Linked DNA regions of Homo sapiens: regions 2, 3, 4, 5 and 6 are each linked to region 1. The links are contacts of gene promoters, found by promoter capture Hi-C in blood cells and fetal thymus (Javierre and others, 2016). All regions are on one chromosome and are shown on one strand. The core of a region is centred on a gene start or on the middle of the fragment in contact, and the rest is flanking DNA. Distances in the headings are between cores, read along the strand shown. Region 1 holds the start of SMCO4 (single-pass membrane protein with coiled-coil domains 4). Region 2 overlaps SLC36A4 (solute carrier family 36 member 4). Region 3 overlaps SLC36A4 (solute carrier family 36 member 4). Region 4 has its middle 15 kb from the start of SLC36A4. Region 5 has its middle 54 kb from the start of SLC36A4. Region 6 has its middle 55 kb from the start of DEUP1.

Region 1 (3,248 bases), core at 298-2,797:
AGCCTTACAAGAAAAAAGATTTCACTGTGTCCCTCAGAAACCTACTCCTGTCTACATCACACTGTCGAGCTCTCTCTTTATACCCCATGTGACAGATAAGAAAACAGAAGTCCAGAGAGAGCAAGTGACTCATCCAAGGTCAAACTTCTTGCTAACACATCTAGGACGAGAATAAGGGCTCAAGAAGCCCACTATGGGTCTCTTGCCGTATCACTGCTGCAAATGACCAGGCATACTGGTGTCTTGAATACAAAGTTTATTTGTAAAGGGGAAAAAAAAAAAGCCAACATGAGTCATCTGCATTGTCAACGGGCTCCACACAGGTTGTTCTAATAAAGCATCCAGCACCTCCAGAACCACTTGTTTCTGAAAGCACCAACCTACGCAGACACTAGCAGGCCATGTCTTCCACCCTTGCCACCCTCGAGGCTGTGAGCAGATGCGCTGTTGGGCTCTGGGGATCTAGAGGTGTCACTTAAAGAGCAAGGGAGCCTGGAGCTTGGCAGTACTGACTGGATGAGTGGATGGGTGGGTGTATGAGGACATGGGAGTGTTTTCTGACAGCTCCCGGAGATAGTTATGATATCATGCAGCCTAATCCCACTCATCTTGGAACACCCCAAACATCTCATCCGCTCAGCTGTCCCTCCTCAACTTCCTCAGGGCAAAAGCACTGCAGTCTGAGGTGAATCTGGCCGCTGGGGAGGGGCGGTAGTCGGCCCCAGCAGCAGAGGAAGCAACGCTCAGCTCCCTCCTCCACCCACCCCGTACAGGAACTCCCCACTGGGTCTTCAGATGCCAGAGGCGTACCCAGCTCGGAGCCTGCCCCGGGTCTCAGGGTCGGTCCCGAAAGAACGGGGGAGGAGGAAGGCTCTATCCCGCCCCCGCCTCACCTCTACTCCCCGACCCCCAGGCGCCGACCCTTCTCACCCGCAAGGTCCGCCGCCGGACTCTTGTCCACTCCCAGAGACCCTGAGCGCACCCCTTTCTCGGCGTCCTCAAAGGACCCGCGTTTCCCACCTTCCCATACGGGGCCCTCCCGGCCGCCCCGGCCCAAGCCCTTTGCACTGCGTCCCCCGGCCCCTGAGTCCGCCCCGCACCCGCACTTCCCGCCCGGCCCCGCGGGCTCGCGGTCCGCCCCAACTTTTCCCAGCCCCCGCCCCGCAGCAACCGGGATGCAGCGTCTCGAGCCGCGACGGGCAGGCGAGCTCGAGTCCCTCGGGCCCCCAACCCCGCCCGCACGAGTTGCGCTCGGGACCCGCCGGGCGCCCAGGCCTGGGTCAGCAGCACTGCGCGGAGGCGGAGCCGGCGTGGCGGGAACCGTACTGTCCCGGCGCCGCACCCCCGCCCGGTGCCCGGTGCCCCGTGCCCCGCGCCCGCCCGCCGGCTCGCCCGCCCCGCCGCCGCCGCCGCCGCGCCGCTCCCAGCCCACCTGCCCGCGGGCGCCGCCGCCGCCGCCGCCACCACTGCCGGGAATACGTGGCAGTGGCCGCCGCCGCTTGCGCTCCCCGCCTCGCCTCTCCTCTCGGCGCCCGCGCGGGCGACTCTGGCGCGCCAGACCGCAGCGCCAGGCGCCCTCTGCCGCCGGGAAGCCGAATCCTCCCGTCCTAACCCTAACTCGCTGGCTGCCCCCGCCCGGGCCTCGGCTCCCGCCCCCTCTTCCCCGTTCCCGGCTCAGACTGTCGCTTCCGAGCGACCTGGGTTCTCGCCCGGCCTGCTGCTGCCGCTGCCTCCAGGAAGTTCGCCCTGACCACCTCTGCAGGCTCAGCGCGCTTCCTCCGGCTCCCGCGCAGCGGGTGCTTAAGTCACCCCCTTGTTGATATATTTCCTGCTTCTTTGAACGCCTCGCCCGTGAGATAGCAGAATCGGAAAGGGGATAGTTGGAGGCAAACGCCATGTCTGTTGTGTTCACCATTCTCTCCTCCAGGGCAAGGTTAGCGCCCTGTCTGGAATACTGAAGTGCGCAATAAATACTTGTGAAGAGAGCAAACGAGTAGATGAATGAGTTGAGACTTTTACCGCTGTCTACCCAAGTAGGCTTTGAAACCTCAAGCGGACAGAGATCCTGACCTGGATTTGTTTTTTGTAACTTACACGTGCATATGTGTGCGCAGCTCAGCATAAATAAATGAGATTCACAATTCCCCACCTCGGACCAGCGCCAAATCCGCAAGAGGCCCACGGCTAAATGTTATTCAGGGCTTTTGGTCAAACACGTTTAGGTTTGAGATCTACCTCTTAAAAGCTGGGCAATCGCGGGAAAGCTCATCTCCCTGGCCCACAGTGAACACGTCTATAAATTAAGAATAATAAAACCTACTTCACAGAGTTGTGAGAATTAATTGAGATGGTGCACTATAAAGTTCTTTACGCAGCCCCGATGTGTGCGGTGGTATGTAAATGGTAGTTATTGTTGTATTACTACTGATGCAGTAGGTGATTTTAAAAACTATCTTCGAAATGTAAAATATTGACTACCTTTTCACCTTAAAACCTTTATATGTGTGGTATTGTCACCTGCTCAGCAAGGCCAGCCCGGGGAGCAAGGCCACTCCTGTAACCTCTTCCCCTCCACCGGTAAAAATATAACAAGTCTTGGGGTTTTTTTGTTCTGTTTTGAAGAATTGTGGAACCCACTCTTCTGCAGGTTTTCCACCTGGATTTCTGTGGCCAATCTCTTAATTAACAAGTTTTTATTTTAGGGATGTCAAAGACAGGGAGCCCTTTGAAAGCACCTGCAGTCTACTGGCTCTTCCTGTTTTCTTCCTGACCCTCTCTCAAACAACTTAAGGCTTTTTTTTTCATTTTTACAGGAAGTGTCCTTCCTGCTGCGTACAAAAGGCAGCAATGCAGTAGAGTGGGATCAGAGGGGATTGGGCTGCATACACCTTGGGCTTTCTGCACCTCAGTCCCCTCAACGGTAAACTGTGGAGAATAAGACCTTGTCACATTGGGAGATCATTCATGATCCGGTCTGTGAAGGAAATAAGGAAATACCTGAAACACAAAGATATTTAATAAAAGGCAACTATTGATCAGTTTATTTAGCATGTATTTAAGGAGCATCTTTTTAGTGTTCTATGCGCTGAAAGAATGAGGGGAACACGCGTGTGTGAGGTAAGTTTCCTACCTTCAAAGGAGTTTGAGCTGTAGCTCCACACTAGGGCAGAGGGATTGGGAGCATATGGGATGCAGCTAAATATGAAATTAGCAAGCCTCAAGGTTTAAATTGGGGCAGTGGTACTGCC
Region 2 (3,248 bases), core at 300-2,799, 400 kb before region 1:
ACAAGACTAACCATAATGCTGCCAAAGTATTAACTATTACAGCCAGGAATTTAATGTTAGGAAGTACAACTACACTTTTCAGATCCAAGTTTCTCAAATTTTCTTATTAAGGGAAGCTAGGTGAGCCAAAAAGATCAGACTCATTTTTTAAAAAGTCATTATTGTATATTATCGATGTTCTGTATGTTAACCAAATTATTTTATTCCTCAACAGATGGTATTGAGCCACTGATGCTATTTAAATAATTTTATTTATTATTTACACTAGCTCTATTTCAAATCTTCTCCTTTTAAATGAAGAAAGAAGTGAGGTCAAGACCTAGTTTGTGTATACTGTCAGTAAACAGATCCACTACTCAGATGCTGTACTGAAATCTATGAGAAGACATAAGTAAGCTATAGTAAGACTTGTGCCTTGCCACAGCTAGAAATGGCACTAATACTTTAATATTTCAAGTAATATTTTATAGTATTTTGCAGTTAAAGAGATTTTACATAACTACTATGAAACTACTAAGATTAGACACTGTTAGGAAATTCAAAACATGCACATTGACATACAACGCTTGTAAATATGTAAGTGCATTTTCCAGGCAAGATGCAGAAATCATTTTAATAACGGAGAATTTAGTGAGAATACGACTAAATATAATGTGGCATTTGCTAATACAGACTTGTTTTCATTTGGTAACATCATCTAAACTGGTTTTTAACCAAGAATACGCTGTAGCTCTTATTTTCTTAATTGTAAAGAAATCTGGCCATGTGGGGAAAAGAAGTCCCTCTGAAAAAAACGTCTGAGAACCAGTGTTTTGACAAGTTGACTCTGATACTGATGAAACTCTTGGGTGTAAGGGAACAGTGATTAACTGACTTGGAACGGAGCTCATTAGAGGTAAATAAAGCTTTCCTTTCTTTCCCCTCAGTAGCAGAAAAGTCTCTCAGGCAACTGATTAACTTTCAGGGAATAGTTCTTCACTGTGGTGGCCAACAAAATGCTGAAGTCATTTTAGTCACAGTGTGATGATCCAAAAGTGATGAGATACAAAATTTGACAGGTGCAATCACTCTCATTTCTCCAGGCTCCCAAAATAAAAGCAAGAGCTGGTATAATCGAAATATCGTCTCCAAAATCTTTAGGAAATTTTACGACTTATTAAAGCTAAATTTTCAGAGAAAAAATTACCCACTGGTTATTTTTGCAAATAAAATGCATCATCAAATACCCTTAATAAGAATACATTTAAGCTTTCCATCTAAATAGTGTTTCTTGTTGAGAATTAAAACTTTCTTCCTTTTTAGCCCCTCTTCTTTTCTGCAATTCAACTTTTTCTTGTATTTAAAGTATTCATCATTTATTGAATTTAGTACTGGATGTTGATTCACCATTCTTATTGCTAAAGGAAGCCTGATTGATAATATACTCAAGATGAGTTTGTGCTGAATTTAAAAATTATTTATTGCTATGATCAATTTTATTCAAATTTCATTGCATTTGATGAATTCCTTAAGGAAAATAAACAATGGGCCAAAGTGTAAAAATTAAATAACATACATAGACTAGAAATATTATCTGAAAACAGGTGACAAAAATCTAATGCTGCTTCCTATTAAATAATAATTTTCAACTCATTTTATATCAAGCTATAAAGTTTTTTAAACATCTAATTCAAGATTATATAATACTAGTTTCAGTGAAGATTCGTTTTCCTATAACTTCTTCTGCATTCTCTTAGTATGACTAAAGGCTCAGTGTAACAGAATTGATATAAAAGTATCTCAAACAATTACTGTTGATACCTAATGTGAATGGTTAAAAAAGTTTTGATTCTTATGACTTTGTACCAAAATAAAGCTTCTGATATATCTTTAGGATTGTATTTGATGATCAGTTAACGATACAAGCAAAAAATACTTGAACTAAGTTAACATTTACATATAAAAATAGAGAATATATACAACTATAGTGATCTTGATGATATCTTCAAGTATGGTATACTAACAAACTAGAGTATCACCAGCCTGAGTAAACAGTTCATGTTTTAAAGTCTAAATTGTTTTTAAAGTCAGAAGACAATTCTATTCTTAATAATTTTCATTTTCCCCACTAACTGAGAGATTCTTTATCTTGGTTAATAACTTGAAAAATATGGAATAATTAGAAGTTATTTGTCTGAAAGAAGCCTGGAGTGTCTCAATATTTAGAAGGGAGTTTATGGATTTTTTCTAAGCATGAATCCCTTTATGTTATGATTCTTGTATATATTTATTGTTGTTTTAGTTTTTAAGAGTTGGGATCTCCCTCTGTAACTCAGGCTGGTGTGCAGTGGCACAGTCATAGCTTACCACAGCCTGAAACTTTTGTGCTCGAGGGATCCTCCTGCTTCAGCCTCCTCAGTAGCTGGGACTACAGGTACACGCCACATCAGGCTAATTTTTTTTTAAATTTTTATGTTTTATAGAGTCGAGGTCTCACTATGCTGCCCAGGCTGGTCTCAAGCTCCTGGCCTCTCAAGTGATCCTCCCAACTTATCCTCCAGAGTAGCTGGGATTATAAGCACAGACCACCACACCTAGCTGATTCTTTTATTCTGCTCATAATAAATAAAAGGCTGTGATAAGAAAAGCCACAGGGCTGGAAAGAGTCCACAAATCCTCCGTTTTCTGAGGTGTCTATTTTCTGCCATTCAGGAATGTGGTGCCTACAAAACTCAGGAAAGGAAGGTAATAATTAAAAAAGCTCAAGCCACAAATAGTATAGCTAGACACACATCTTACTAGCCAGGAGTTTCACCAGCAAGCGGTCTCTATTCTGTTTTAAAAGAACATAGCTTCTTTCTCTTGCTGAGGTTTATATGGCCACAGTGTAGGCTTCTTGGAGTTCCCTGATTTTCTGCTCAGGTCACATATACTATTAAAAATCACACATTCATTTTCAAAGTATTAAAATATAATCAAATAGATTCAACACTAAAATTAAGCTGAACATAATTTATTCTTTTTCTTGGACATGATGTGAGAAATAAAACATCCTGGCCTGGGAGTCAGAAGATTAGGTTTTCTTGATCTCAAGGCTGAGTGGTCTCGACCAAGTTACTTAACCTTTCTAGGCCTCCTTTTCCTCTGACGAAAAACAAGGGAGTTGCACTGGATAAGTTTTAAAGTCCCTTTTCAAATTTCATTGAAACACTAAGTCATGATCTTGAACAGTGCCTCTTGACTATGAAGATCAACTACCATTAGAGTGT
Region 3 (3,248 bases), core at 261-2,760, 380 kb before region 1:
GATCTATTTTGTCTGGGGTTAGTATAAATAGATGTTTACAAATGGTTTTGCTCCCATACCAGATCATCAGACTATGAAACATAAACTATGGAGCAAAGCAGACAGCAAGATTCTATTTTCCCCAAGTCTACAAATGTTAGGCATTAAATAAACTGGGAGCTACCTGAATGGCAATATTTAATATCTTAGAATCCTCAGAATCTTTGGAGTCTCTCTTGGTATTAGCTTTATAACACTGTTTCTCAAAACAAACATTATATTCATAAAACTATAGGGAGAATTTACATCCAACTTTTTATATAGCAGTGATTCTGCAACTATTCTGATTACCTTCAGATAATCTCATCTATAAAATATGCTTCAGATGTGCCTGAGTATGTGGGATATAGATTTTTTTTAAACTGGCCTTGAGTTAATAATTTTTGAAGCCAGGTGATGTTTACATAGTTCATTATACTACTCTCTAAATTTTGTATAGGTTTGAAATTTTCCATAATAAAATGTTAAAAATGATCTGGCTAATTTCTTCATTTTATAGATAAATAAAAAGAGAAGTAGAGAGCCTAAGTGGTATGTCTAACATTAAGTTCTTTGTTAATGGAAGGACTAAACTATAATTCTAATCTATCACACCAAATTGGAAATCATGTAAAGAAAATTGAAATAAAAAAGAAAAATATGCAATTTTAAATACAGGTAGGCTATATAAATCATTGTGCTGAATTAAGATTTTAAAAAATAATAATAAAGACTAAATTCTTACCACTCCTATGCCTTCAAAAGCAAATACAGCAGTACCAAAAAAGAGTGGGTATTTCTTCCAACCAGCCACTATTGGAAGGTTGTGGGGATCTGGCATGTTCTAAAGAAAGGAAGAAAAAAAGAAGACCAGTTACATCTTTACTTATTCTAAATAATTAAAAAATGTAAGAAAAATCATATAATTTTGAGCTTCACAACAGCAAATGTGTTATAAAATTGAATAATTGTTTCAACAAACACTTAAAGCATCCTCTGTTAAATGTAGCCAAGCTGTTAGGATTTCACTGCCAAAAGCAATTGTTTCCCTCATGCCCATACATTCCATCTGAGCAAAATGCTCCTGATTACCTGCTTCCACCTGCAAGTCCCAGGCTGTGAACACTAGGTATGGCTCCTGCCACAACAGGAAATACATAAGCACACTCAAGGCCTAAGCTGAGAGCCATATAGTCAAGTTATCAACCACTGCTGCTGGTGCCTAGCAGAAATTCATTCTCCACTCTATTTTTATTGCTCTTTCAGTTCTCTAAGATACCTGGTTCCTGACACTGGCTTTCTACCTTATAGCTCTGCTGCTGCCCAAAACAGGTTTCCTTCTTGCTTCAGTGCTTACTATTTGATTTGATGGTTGTCATTACCCTTATTATTTGAATATATATGTCCTGACTCTGGCTTTGATTGCTTGGTCCTGACTCACAGGCTTATTCCAAATCTCACCATCCGGACAAAGTACACATTGGCTCTAAATGGCCACTTCTTCCAGATACCCCAAGTCTGGTCCCTACTCTTCTCACCATCTTACATTCTCTGCTTTGCCTGATTGGAAGCAGAATTCAAGGCCAAGTAAAAAGAATGAACAAAGCAACTGAAGTGTGAAAGCTCTAGGATAATTTGGGGAATAGAGAGATCTAGAATATCTGAAGCATAGATAGAACTGTGTGATATACTGGTGATACATGTCTAAAACCATATACTGGGTTTAGAATGAAAGGGTATTACAATGTTTGGCTCATTCAATGCTAAACTATTATTTAAGGCAAGCAGGATGCTATTTCACTTCTCCCAACAGCAGCTCACGCTGTTCCTTCTATTTTGGAAACCTCCTTTTCTGCTTAACTGACTCTTACATGTTTAGCTAAGGGGTCATGAACTCCGGAAAGCCTATATGAACTTCCTGTCTGTTTCCTCCCACTCAGTGCTATAAGAGAAACTACAACTTTTGAAAATCAAAGAGGAGGGAAATGAAACACAGATCCATAATAAGAATTTTTAATAAATTGCTAATGAAGATTTTACAACAATTACCTTGGAAATAATATATAAGATTAATTAGATCAGGAGTGACTAGAACAGGGATTCTCAACCTTTTTTGTGTCTTTGACACCTTTGCAAGATGAAAGCTATACAACTGCTCAACAGCAAAACACATACATACATACAGAAATACTAAATCTTGCAAACTATTTTAAGGGATTTGAAGAATCCCTGAATCCCATCAATAGATTATTTTATGGAAACTGGGTTAAGAATCCCCAGACTATGGACAATGAAATCAGTTGATGTTATTGCATATACTTCAGGTAAAGGGATTACAGACTAGTGTAGTGGCAGTGGACTGAAGCAGTGGCAGCAAATAAAAGTTCAGAAGTGAAAGGAAATTATGGAATTGCATATATATATATTAATGAGTACCTGGTTTCATGTTTGGCACTGTACTAAGAACACAATCCTAAGTCTCATAACTCTAATAGGGTAGGCATTACTATCTTCTGAAGCACTGTCACAAAGCCCAGAGGCGTTATTTACCAAGATTCAAGATCTGACCACAAAGCCTGTTTAATCTCTATGTCATATACTTTTCTAACTCAGCAGCATCCCCCTAAAAGAAACCAACATTTACTGATTGCACACTGTGTGCCACATATGAAGTAGGGGTCTTTGCATATCATTACTTTTACCTCCACAGTAAACAAAATTTTACTTACATAAGAAAGATAAGAACTTAGTTAAAAACTTTTTATACTTACCCTGACAACATACTGGTAAATTATCACAAGACTGACAGCCATGGAAACGTTGGCAAGGAATGAAAGTACAAATAGATTCTTTAGTTCACGAATGAAGACCAAAAGAATTATAAATGGAAGAAAGCAAAGCATATATATCCTTAGGTCAACACTTCTTCTCTCACAAGGGTTTGATGAATTGGTACTATTTGAAATAAACACTTTACTCTCCAGGAATCCTTCATGAACCTACATAGGATTACCAGGAGAATAAAGAAGGGGGAAAAACTTCCATCAACTTACAATCATAAAACACATGTACAAAGAAAATCACAACATATACACTCTACAATAAATTCCTATGATATATTTTAAAATATTTACATTTACATTTTTTCAAGATACTCTGGTTTCCTAGAAACATATGTATCAAATATAAGGATAACTGACGTAAGATAATCTTGAAAGGTAATTTCTTTT
Region 4 (3,248 bases), core at 207-2,706, 330 kb before region 1:
AATCAGTAACAGGAGGAAAATTGGAAAATTCATAAATTTGTAGAAATTAAACAGCATGCTCCTGAACAACCAAAGGGTCAAAAAAATCTAAATGGAAATGTTAAGATATCTTGAGACAAACAAAAATGGAAACACAGCATACCAAAATTTATTGGACACACCAGAAGCATTTCTAAGAGTGAGGTTTATAACAATAAATGCCTAGATTAAGAAAAAGATCTCAAATAAACAACCTAACTTTATACCTCAAGGAAATAGAAAAAGAACAAAGCCTAAATTCAGTAGAAAGAAGGAAACAGCAAAGATCAGAGCAAAAATAAATGAAATAGAAGCTGAAAAGAACAACAGAAAAGATCAGTGAAACTAAGATATTAAAAATTAAACTTAAAAACAGAACTAGCACATGATGCCGCAGCCCCACTGTTGGGCATATATCCAAAAGAAATTAAATCAGTATATAGAAGAAATAGCTGTACTGTCATGTTCCTTCCAGCATTATTCACAATAATAAGATGTGTCCATTGATGGGTAAATGGATAAAGAAAACGTGGTATATAATATGTATATGTACACACAATGGTATTTTATTCAGCCTTAAAAAAGAATGAAATCCCGTCATTTCTAACAATATGAATGAACCTAGAGGCCACTTTGCTAAGTGAAATAAGCCAGGCATAGAAGAAAAATGCTGCATCATCTTACTTACATTGGGATCTTAAGAAGTTGAACTCATAGATGCAGAGAGTAGAACGGTAGTTGCTAAGAGCTGGGGGTGGAGGAAATAGGGAGATATTGGTGAAAGAGTACAAAGTCTCAGTTATGCAGCATGATGACTGCAGGTAATAATTCTCGAGTTTATACTTGAAATTTGCTGAGAGTAGATCTTAAATGTTCTCTCCACACATTCAGCAATAAAGATAACTATGCAAGGTGAGGGATATGTTCATTAGCTTAATATTGGTCATCATTTTCACAATGTATGCATATAACAAAAGATCATATTGGACACTGTAAATATATATAGTTTTCATCAATTATGCCTCAGTAAAATTAGAAATGGAAAGAAAGAAAAGACAAGCTTAGACAGACTCAGAGACTTACCCAAAATTTCACAGATCAAAACCAAATCTAATTTCAACTTTAGGACATATACTATTATCCACTCTGCCTCATAGCTTCTTGAGATCCTAAGCAGCTAAGCTGACAGGTTGTGAGAGCCACTCACAGTTCTGACCATTGGTCAGTGGTGTGATTTAGTCATTACAACATTGTACATTTCTGTCTATCCATTTTCATATAGCTAATGAAAGATTCAGAAGATCAGCCTGAAATCAGGTAACTGAGCTTCACTGATGGCGGTTAATTCCAACATAAATGCCACAACCAACATATTAAGCATTGTCTTCTGAAAATACTACTCTTTGAAGGACAATAAAAAAGTGACTTGGCCGGGCACAATGGCTTACGCCTATAATCTCAGCACTTTGGGAGGCCGAGGTGGGTGGATCACGAAGTCAGGAGATTGAGACCATCCTGGCTAACACGGTGAAACCCTGTCTCTACCAAAAACACAAAAAATTAGCCATAGTGGCATGCGCCTGTAGTCCCAGCTACTCAGGAGGCTGAGGCAGGAGAATCGCTTGAACCTGGGAGGCAGAGGTTGCAGTGAGCTGAAATCATGCCACTGCACTCCAGCCTGAGGGACAGAGCGAGACTCCGTCTCACAAAAAAAAAAAAAAAAAAAGTGACTTATGGTGAGTGCTGGAAAGGACACTTTTATTTTCCCACATGTAAGTTATTCCCTTTGGTATTTAACATGACTGGTAAAAGGCTTTAAAGCTTATAATAAATCTCAAGTGTACTCCCGAAGGCTCAAAAGAAAAAGGGTGCTTTACGAAATTTGCTTCTTTCCATTCTAAGCATTATGTATTGGTTAGACATTAACTTGCAAGGAAATTATTTCACTTGTGTTGTCTTCAAATAAAACTATTATCATGCCGAGTACAAAAGTCTGGGTTTTCTCTTGATGCTAAGGACTCATGATCCTCACATGTAAATTTAACTTGATAAGTCCTCTCTATTTCAGGATTTTAACATCAAGGTCTAGTTTGGGATTTAATTTGACAGGCTGTACCTGTCAGTTTTTGTATAGTTTACTTTCATCACAGTTCAAAAGGAGTGTGTGAAAGACTTACTTGTGGTAAGTAGGTCACCTGAGACACATGTTATGCATGAGGAATCCTGGAATTCCTGCTACCTGGGACACTTTTCATGATTATTCAAGGAGCTTGCTCACAATTTAATAACCTTGTTGACAATACCAACCACATTGGGAAAGAATAGTTCCATACTCATTTGGGAAATCTGCTTAAGAGATATAGATTCCCCATAGAACTGATCAGAGAAAATAAACACCAACATATATGTGCTTTTTGGTAATAAAAATAAGTGGCATGGAAGTTAGAAAGCTTCCATTCAGGAAAAAGGAGAAGTTCCAGTTGGAGGACTGCATTCTAGCCCATGCCCTCAGAAGATTTTGAGATAAGAGGTCCTTGGAAAAAGGTACCATTTAAGAAAATGTCACCAACCCATTTTCTTTAAGACCAGGCTGGTAGCCAATCACATTATGCTTCATTTATAGGATACTGTTCCTGTTAATTTTGTTTTTTAGTGATAACACACAATTGTTCCTCATCTGATTTTTCCCTCATAAAACAGCTAAGCATTTTGATCTGACTTTCTCAATAGACTGCATTCATTGTATAATAAATTAGATCAATGATTGATTACTTAATAATAGGCCATTGTATTAAGTCAAAGAAGTGAGAAATTGACCAAGAACAGTTCATTTTGTGTATTATAAATGGATACTAATCCATCCATCCTCTATTTAGGTCTTTGGGTTCCATTACTTATGTCAAGAGGCTATTTACAATCTAACAAGTTTGACCTTATCTCCATTGGTGATCTTTCAAATGTGGCTCTATAAGGAAACCAAAATACCTAGAATTACAGGATTTGGCATACTCCAAAACAACATCAGTGACCCATTCAGATTGAGAATTATTTAACATTCACTGTTCTAGGCATCATGCTTAGTGTTTTCTTATACGTTATCTCATTTAATCTTCACAATAACCCTACAGAAATAAATATTATGATCAATATTTTACAAATGAACAAACTGAGGTTCAGAGAAGAAGTAAATTCTAAGGCTTAGTAGTCACAAGAACCAAACCCAGGATCCC
Region 5 (3,248 bases), core at 530-3,029, 290 kb before region 1:
TTCCTGTGTTTTGTGAGTCTGCAAGAGTGAGATAAATTATGCCACATTTCCCAAGTTTGTTTGACTATGGAATTCTTTTAGGGGGAACAACTCTTAGCATTACTGTTCTAATACTAAATGGAGTGAAACGCATTTTGAGAAAAAGGAAGACAGTCAAGATGCTGAGGACTTGCTAATGAGGTGCTAGCCTGGACACTGAGAAGAGAATTTTCAGACGATACTTAAGTGCCTCCAGAGAATGAGCTGTTGATACTGTATTAGATGCCATGAGACAACACCCAGATGCTCCTTCAAGATCAAGGAACCCCCCAGCTTTGGGTAGTGTCGCCAGCTGACAGCTTGCCAGCCTTCTCCAGAAATTGCACTCAGTTGAAGGTAGCTGCCTTGCTCAAATGTATGCCCCCACCGCACTCAGAAGTAGCCTGTATCTAGTCACTATGGGGGTACAAAGGCCTGGTGTCTTGCTTTTATTCATATCATCTCTGAAAGGCCATTCTAGTTCACAGCCAATTTTCAGTCAAGGAACCTACTGAATGAAAGAGAGACCAAGTCCCCATAAGGAAAAAACTTGCAACACTATGGCAAGTATATGAAGGTAATCAGTCTCTCAGCCCTTCCTCAAAGTGACCTATAGCCATTTAGTCATATACTGAAAGGACAATATCCAGATGTTTCAAAGATTGTTGAACACTGAATCTATGTTGACACTGATACCCATATGATCCACTGAAGCCTCTGTTGCAACTATAACACCATGGCTCCTTCATTAGATGGGGTCATAAGGGGATAAAGTATAAATGGAGTCATGCTCCAGGTCCTCGTTCATTGTGTGTTCACTGGCTCCATGGACCCACCCAGTGGTCATTTCCCCAGTCCCTGAATATAGAATTGAAATTAGTATCCTTGGTAATTGCTTGAACCTTCACATTTGTTCTTTTCTCTGTGAGGTAACAGCTATTGTGGTGGGGAAAGCCAAATAGGAGCCTTTGAAACTTCCTTTCTCCCCACCTAAGATTGTAAAATCAAAACAATATCAGTTGATGAGGGGAATGGCAGAGATTAGTGCTACCCTTAAAGACCTACAGGATACAGAGCTCTCCATCATATCCTCATTCATTTAATTCACTAGTCTGGTCCCTATAAAAAACAAACAGATCCTGGAGAATGAAAGCAGATTACTACAAACTCAACCAAGTAGCACTGGTTGACATATATTCTTGGAATGGGGTTACCCTTCCTGCCTGCTTGGCTTCAGCAAGCACCACTATCTGAGGGCATGGAGTGAACTGACCTGTTGACATGGGCTCCTAAATAATGTTGCAATTGACCAAGGGACCCATTGTATAATAAAGGGATATATATCATGGGACCTATTGGTCCTATTTCATATTGCCGCACCCAGAAGATGTTGGCCTGATACAGCAACAGAATTGCTCTTTGAAGGCACAATTAGGCACTAGATTAGAGATGATGCTGTATGCGTATAGGGCTCCATCCTTAGGGCCCAGTATATACCCTAAACCAGTGACTATTATACAGTGTTATATCTCCAATATGCAGACCGCATGGGTCCAAAAAACAAGGAAGGGCGACAAAAGTAGTCCACTTATCATCACTCCTCGTGACCCACATGGATAATTTATTCTTCCATTTCCACAACTCTAGGCTCTACATGACTACAAGTTCTGATTCCCAGATGTAAAATGTTTCCACCATGGAACGAACAAGAGTGCCAATGAAGTTCAAGCTATGGATGTCACCTACTCTCTTCAGGCTCCTTTGCTAAGGCCAGTAGGCAAGATAAGGAGTTGCCAGCCTGGAGGTAATTCACCCTCACCAACAGGAGGCAGGAGGACTGCTCTTACACAGCAAATGATCATCACAGCATGCCAGAGGACCTTTGTGCTTCAGTGGCTAAGGGAGTGATAAGATTTCAAAGATAAACTTTGACTTCTTTCTCTAAAAGGAATTACAGGCTCTTGGAGAAAAAACTGTAAGTCTTAAATTTCACTTTTTATTGATATATAATGGTTGCACATATTTATAGGGTATGTGTGATATTTTGATACATGTGAACAATGTGTAATGACCAAATCAGGGTAACTGGGTTATTCATCACCTCAAATAATGATCATTTCTTTGTGTTTAGAATGTTCCAAAGATTCTCTTCTAGCTATTTTGAATTATACAATTAATTGTTTTTAACTATAGTCTCCCTACTGTGTGTGCCATTGAACACGGGTACTTCTTCCTCCTATCTAACTGTATTTTTGTATCCATTAACCAACATCTCTTAATTCCCTATTTTTCCTACCCTTCCCAGACTCTAGTAACCACCACTCTACTCTCCACCTCCCCAAGACCACTCCCACATATGAGTGAGAACATGGAATATTTGTCTTTCTGTGCTTCACTTATTTAACTTAACATAATGTCTTCCAGTTTCATCCATGTTGCTGCAAATGATAGGATTTCATTCATTTTATGACTTAATAATATTTTATTGTGTATATATAGCATTTTTTATCCATTCAGCCTAATCATCAGGGAAATGCAAATCAAAACCATAGTGAGATACAGTTAAAATAGCTATTACCAAAAAGACAGAAAATGCTGGCAAGGATGTGGAGAAAGGAGAATGCTCACACACTGTTTGTGGGAATGTAAATTAGTATGGCTGTTCTACTTTATATTTTTTAATTATTATGTTAGTTTACTACTTTTAAACCTGACTTGGCTAAAGATTATGTATTTTTGAGTATCTTAAATGTGCAGAACTCTGATCCTAACTAAAAAAATCCCATTAGCCAGCAATTTCATCTTTGGTAAACACTCCTTTACAAACTCTAGTATATATTGTGAAAGTTATCAGAATCAAAGTGTAGTCACTAATGTTAAGAAAACTCTGACACATATAGCCAGAGAAGGCCATGAAGAGAAGATTCTCATGATTGTATGCCTAACAATGAAAAAGACTCCACAAAAACTACAGCATTGCACAAAAGCCATTGCAATCTTAGATCAAAAATACTTCTGCAAGGACATCTGCCTGGCAATGGCTTATTCAACCTTGGACTGATGTCAGTCTTGCTATTAATCTTTGTAGCTAAGAATAATTATTTCAAAACAGTTATGTAATCTTCCTCATTTTTTCCCTTTAAAAACCTTTGTCTTCCTTTACCTCCCTGAATATACACATTGTTCACTATGACATACGTATTCCCATTGCAATACTATATTCCCAAACA
Region 6 (3,248 bases), core at 276-2,775, 270 kb before region 1:
CAAAATGACCTCAAGGTTATTTGCTATACAGAATTGGGGTAGATACTAGTTCATGAAAAGAAACAATTCCAAGCCAGAGAGGACAAGAGTCAAGGCCATCCTTTGAATATAACTTCCATTCAATTTAAGAAACCTGGAAAACATCCAAGTATGATCTTAGGGCTATAGTCATGAAATGCTAAAAGCCACTGCTGGGTCAGAATAAACTGAAAAGAAGCATAAATGTCACCTGAATAGAATATAAGAATGTATGTCATCCAGAGGTTAGTATATTAATGGAATTGAAGATGTAAAGTACAAGAAGTCATTATGGTACTTTATTCAATTATTTTTAGAAAAATCGGTTACTAAAGCCAAAGCAGAAAAAGTTGTATATGAATTGTGTTTTGATTTGGTTAAGCCAGACTTGGATACATTTATTATTCAATAAGGCAAACATTTATTGAATCCTCCTGTGTGCCAGGTACAGTGGGTATAAAAATAAATAAGACATAATATTTGTTCTCAAGAAATTCACAGAAGAAACACACACACACACACACACACACACACACACACTTTATGCTTTTTTAAATGGCGCAATACAGGATAATGAGACAAAATCTGTTACAGAGACAAAGAGAAAGAAGCAACCACATTGATGAGTAGAATGAATTGAAAATTCAGAAAATACAAAGAGCAGAGAGAAGAAAATAAAAAGCATATATAGTCCCATCACAGACTTTCCCAGTTAAAATTTTGCCATATGCCCTTTGAGACTTTTTCCCATGTACATATCTCTATCTTGTATTTATTTCTGATTTATCAATTGAAGCAACTGGAATTGCTCATTTTGCAGGTTAAACATGACTAATGACAACTTCAGATGGTTCAACCTAACACTTCTGAAAATGTCTGGGGATAACTTATAATAGTAAAATATATAAAACAGGTCATTTTTTTAAAAAATAAAAACAAACATCTTGACAACAGCAGTCATATAAATGGTCCCAGGCATCTGAGATCCATTAGTTGCTGCCTTTGCTCTTTATACTGTAGCTATGAGATTCCTGGCAGCTAGGAAAATACAGAAAAGCTATTCTGTTATTAAAATCATCTTTATATTGAAAGGAATCATATGTTGTTTACTTGGAAAAATAGATTTTTTCCTCCCTGTGAAATGAAAGGGATTTATTATTTTAAATGATGTTCTTTAAATGACTCTCCATTAGAGCAAAAACTGTAATACTAAATCTTTACTCAACGATGACCTAATTTAATGCTGGGAGAGGATTTCAAGAAGATGAAAACTAACAAGTTTCTCAGAGTCACTCTCAGATACTGCTTCAAGTAAGCTTTTAGCAGGTACTCACTCACAATCAGATTAGCTCCTAAATTCTCTTGAAGTGCTGATAATATTTGTCCTTAAGAGCACTCCATGTGTTGTTGGTTCTAGAAATGTTGTCAGAGTTAACTTTCTGCTATGGCAATTAATTTACTAACATGATCCTTCCCCAAACAAAAGATCCCTTCTGTGTTAGTTTTGCTCAAAGAGTGAGGGCCAGAGATGTGCTCAGGTGACTTCTGTGGGGAAATGTCATACCATCAAGCTAATGAGAGCTGGAATGTTGACTATCAGGGACACTCAGTGTGCCCCAGCATCTCTGTGACCTCGCCTTAGCCCTAGTAACATGGTTGTCCTCTCACCCTTCCTGGTTCCTGCTAACACTCACTTTCCTAAGCTTTTTCTCTCTTTACTTCTTTTCTATTTCTGCCTCTTCCATCCTCCATAAGAGGCACATTCAAGATACCCTCTACAAGGAGAAGATTTGATTGAGAAATCATTTAATGTGGAGCAGAGTCAGCCATAGAGTAGGAGGAGGGCACCACATGGACTATGGGTGAAGAAGGAGGGTGGGAGAATCAGGCAGACAGAAAGACCCAGGGTTCAAGCCCCTGCAACTCCATTTGCCAGTCTATGAACTGGACCCATGACTAAGCCTCTGGAATGCTATGGTCTGGGTGAGACACGTGCATTTAAAACTGAATGATTATTGCACATGTTTGAATCCTGTTAGGGTATCTCTGTGGCTACATGTGTGTTATTACTAAGATGGATTTAGTAATATTGTAACCAATCTCCTAGGACTGTTGTGAAGATTAAATCAAAGCAATCATCAAGTGAAGATCTCAGCAGTGTTTGACTCACAGTAAGTGCTCATTAAATATTTAGCTACTATTACTATGTTCAGCTGTTGATAGTTACCTTTGGCCTCAATTTCTGGTTCAATCTATTTCAGCCAGGTAATAGGGTCACATGACACAAATCCTAGTAACTTGGGGTACCAGGAATCGTCTTTTCTCCTAAAGTGATGATGAACATGACTTGTGCTTCGTGTTTTACCTGTTCAGGAAGATCCCATTTTTGTATGAAGATGGGCTGTAGACAGGCTTACAGATAGCAACAATTCTGCAAAGGGAGGTATGAGTCTGCTTAGATACTAGAACAAGCATTCAACAAGAGAGAAGCATATAGCATTGTAAGGCCTGAGTGATAAGATTTGGGCTTTAAATCATTAAATACATTATTATAAACTGTCTTATTTGACAGTAAAAGGAAAGAGCCAGTAAAATAGTATCCTGAGGAACTGTCCAGGATTTATCTACCATTGTTTCCTAATCATTTCTTAGACATATATCTTGATACCACATCTACAAGAGCTTAAGAATAGAAAACCATGAATTTTTATTTCTTTTTATTTCCCCCAGATTCTTAGGCAAATGATAGATTCTCAAATAGCAGTTGTAACCTGTCTTGTTGAAGACAGATAAATATTTATTCATGTGGTAAATAAAAATACCTGCATTTTTTATTTTTTGCAATTTTCAGGATGTGACTGGAACAGAAATTCTCATGGAACCCTTTGAAAAAGCTGTGCTTTCATAGCCCCGTGTGCCCCTCTCCACCACATTTATCACAGTGCCTTAGCAGGCCTCTATGACTTCTTAGAGAACGAGAGAGGGAGAGGTCACCTCCATTTTTTTTGTGGCTTCTGCATTTAAAAATTTTCTAAAAGTCAAAAGAAAATAAAAAGCACAACACAATGCAATATAACATTCCTATTTATAAGATAATTTAATGATTTATACAAATATTAATGAACCATAACAAAAATAATTATAATCGTCAATTTATAGCATTTCTGTAGTTAACTTTTTCTCAAAATTATAAAAGGAAAAGTAAAAATATAAGATAAATATATTAATTG

Evidence for each region. Contacts are between HindIII fragments. The CHiCAGO score rates a contact against its expected background, and 5 or more counts as called.
Region 2: a fragment that was not itself captured here is called in contact with the fragment with the promoter of SMCO4 in region 1 in 2 of 17 cell types (monocytes and megakaryocytes); the score reaches 6.9 in monocytes.
Region 3: a fragment that was not itself captured here is called in contact with the fragment with the promoter of SMCO4 in region 1 in 1 of 17 cell types (monocytes); the score reaches 5.8 in monocytes.
Region 4: a fragment that was not itself captured here is called in contact with the fragment with the promoter of SMCO4 in region 1 in 3 of 17 cell types (monocytes, erythroblasts and endothelial precursors); the score reaches 7.6 in monocytes.
Region 5: a fragment that was not itself captured here is called in contact with the fragment with the promoter of SMCO4 in region 1 in 9 of 17 cell types (endothelial precursors, megakaryocytes, erythroblasts and 6 more); the score reaches 10.3 in endothelial precursors.
Region 6: a contact is called between a fragment that was not itself captured here and the fragment with the promoter of SMCO4 in region 1, in 1 of 17 cell types (monocytes). The highest score is 5.2, in monocytes.

Annotation. Positions count from the first base shown.
Region 1 is chr11:93,541,844-93,545,091 of GRCh38, forward strand. SMCO4 (single-pass membrane protein with coiled-coil domains 4) reads right to left here and starts at 1,548. Exons shown (of 3, transcript NM_020179.3): 1 at 1,433-1,548. RefSeq lists silencers at 1,039-1,278, 1,409-1,458, 1,619-1,748. The HindIII fragment of the contact is 4,665 bases long and covers 1-3,248 here.
Region 2 is chr11:93,144,708-93,147,955 of GRCh38, forward strand. It overlaps SLC36A4 (solute carrier family 36 member 4), which reads right to left. Exons shown (of 11, transcript NM_152313.4): 11 at 1-3,248. Among named protein-coding and RNA genes, the nearest start is that of SLC36A4, 52 kb to the right of the region's middle. The HindIII fragment of the contact is 607 bases long and covers 1,247-1,853 here.
Region 3 is chr11:93,165,155-93,168,402 of GRCh38, forward strand. SLC36A4 (solute carrier family 36 member 4) reads right to left here. Exons shown (of 11, transcript NM_152313.4): 7 at 2,790-3,017; 8 at 764-862. Among named protein-coding and RNA genes, the nearest start is that of SLC36A4, 31 kb to the right of the region's middle. The HindIII fragment of the contact is 3,601 bases long and covers 1-3,248 here.
Region 4 is chr11:93,211,591-93,214,838 of GRCh38, forward strand. No RefSeq gene overlaps it. Among named protein-coding and RNA genes, the nearest start is that of SLC36A4, 15 kb to the left of the region's middle. The HindIII fragment of the contact is 761 bases long and covers 1,077-1,837 here.
Region 5 is chr11:93,250,267-93,253,514 of GRCh38, forward strand. No RefSeq gene overlaps it. Among named protein-coding and RNA genes, the nearest start is that of SLC36A4, 54 kb to the left of the region's middle. The HindIII fragment of the contact is 4,790 bases long and covers 1-3,248 here.
Region 6 is chr11:93,274,013-93,277,260 of GRCh38, forward strand. No RefSeq gene overlaps it. Among named protein-coding and RNA genes, the nearest start is that of DEUP1, 55 kb to the right of the region's middle. The HindIII fragment of the contact is 387 bases long and covers 1,333-1,719 here.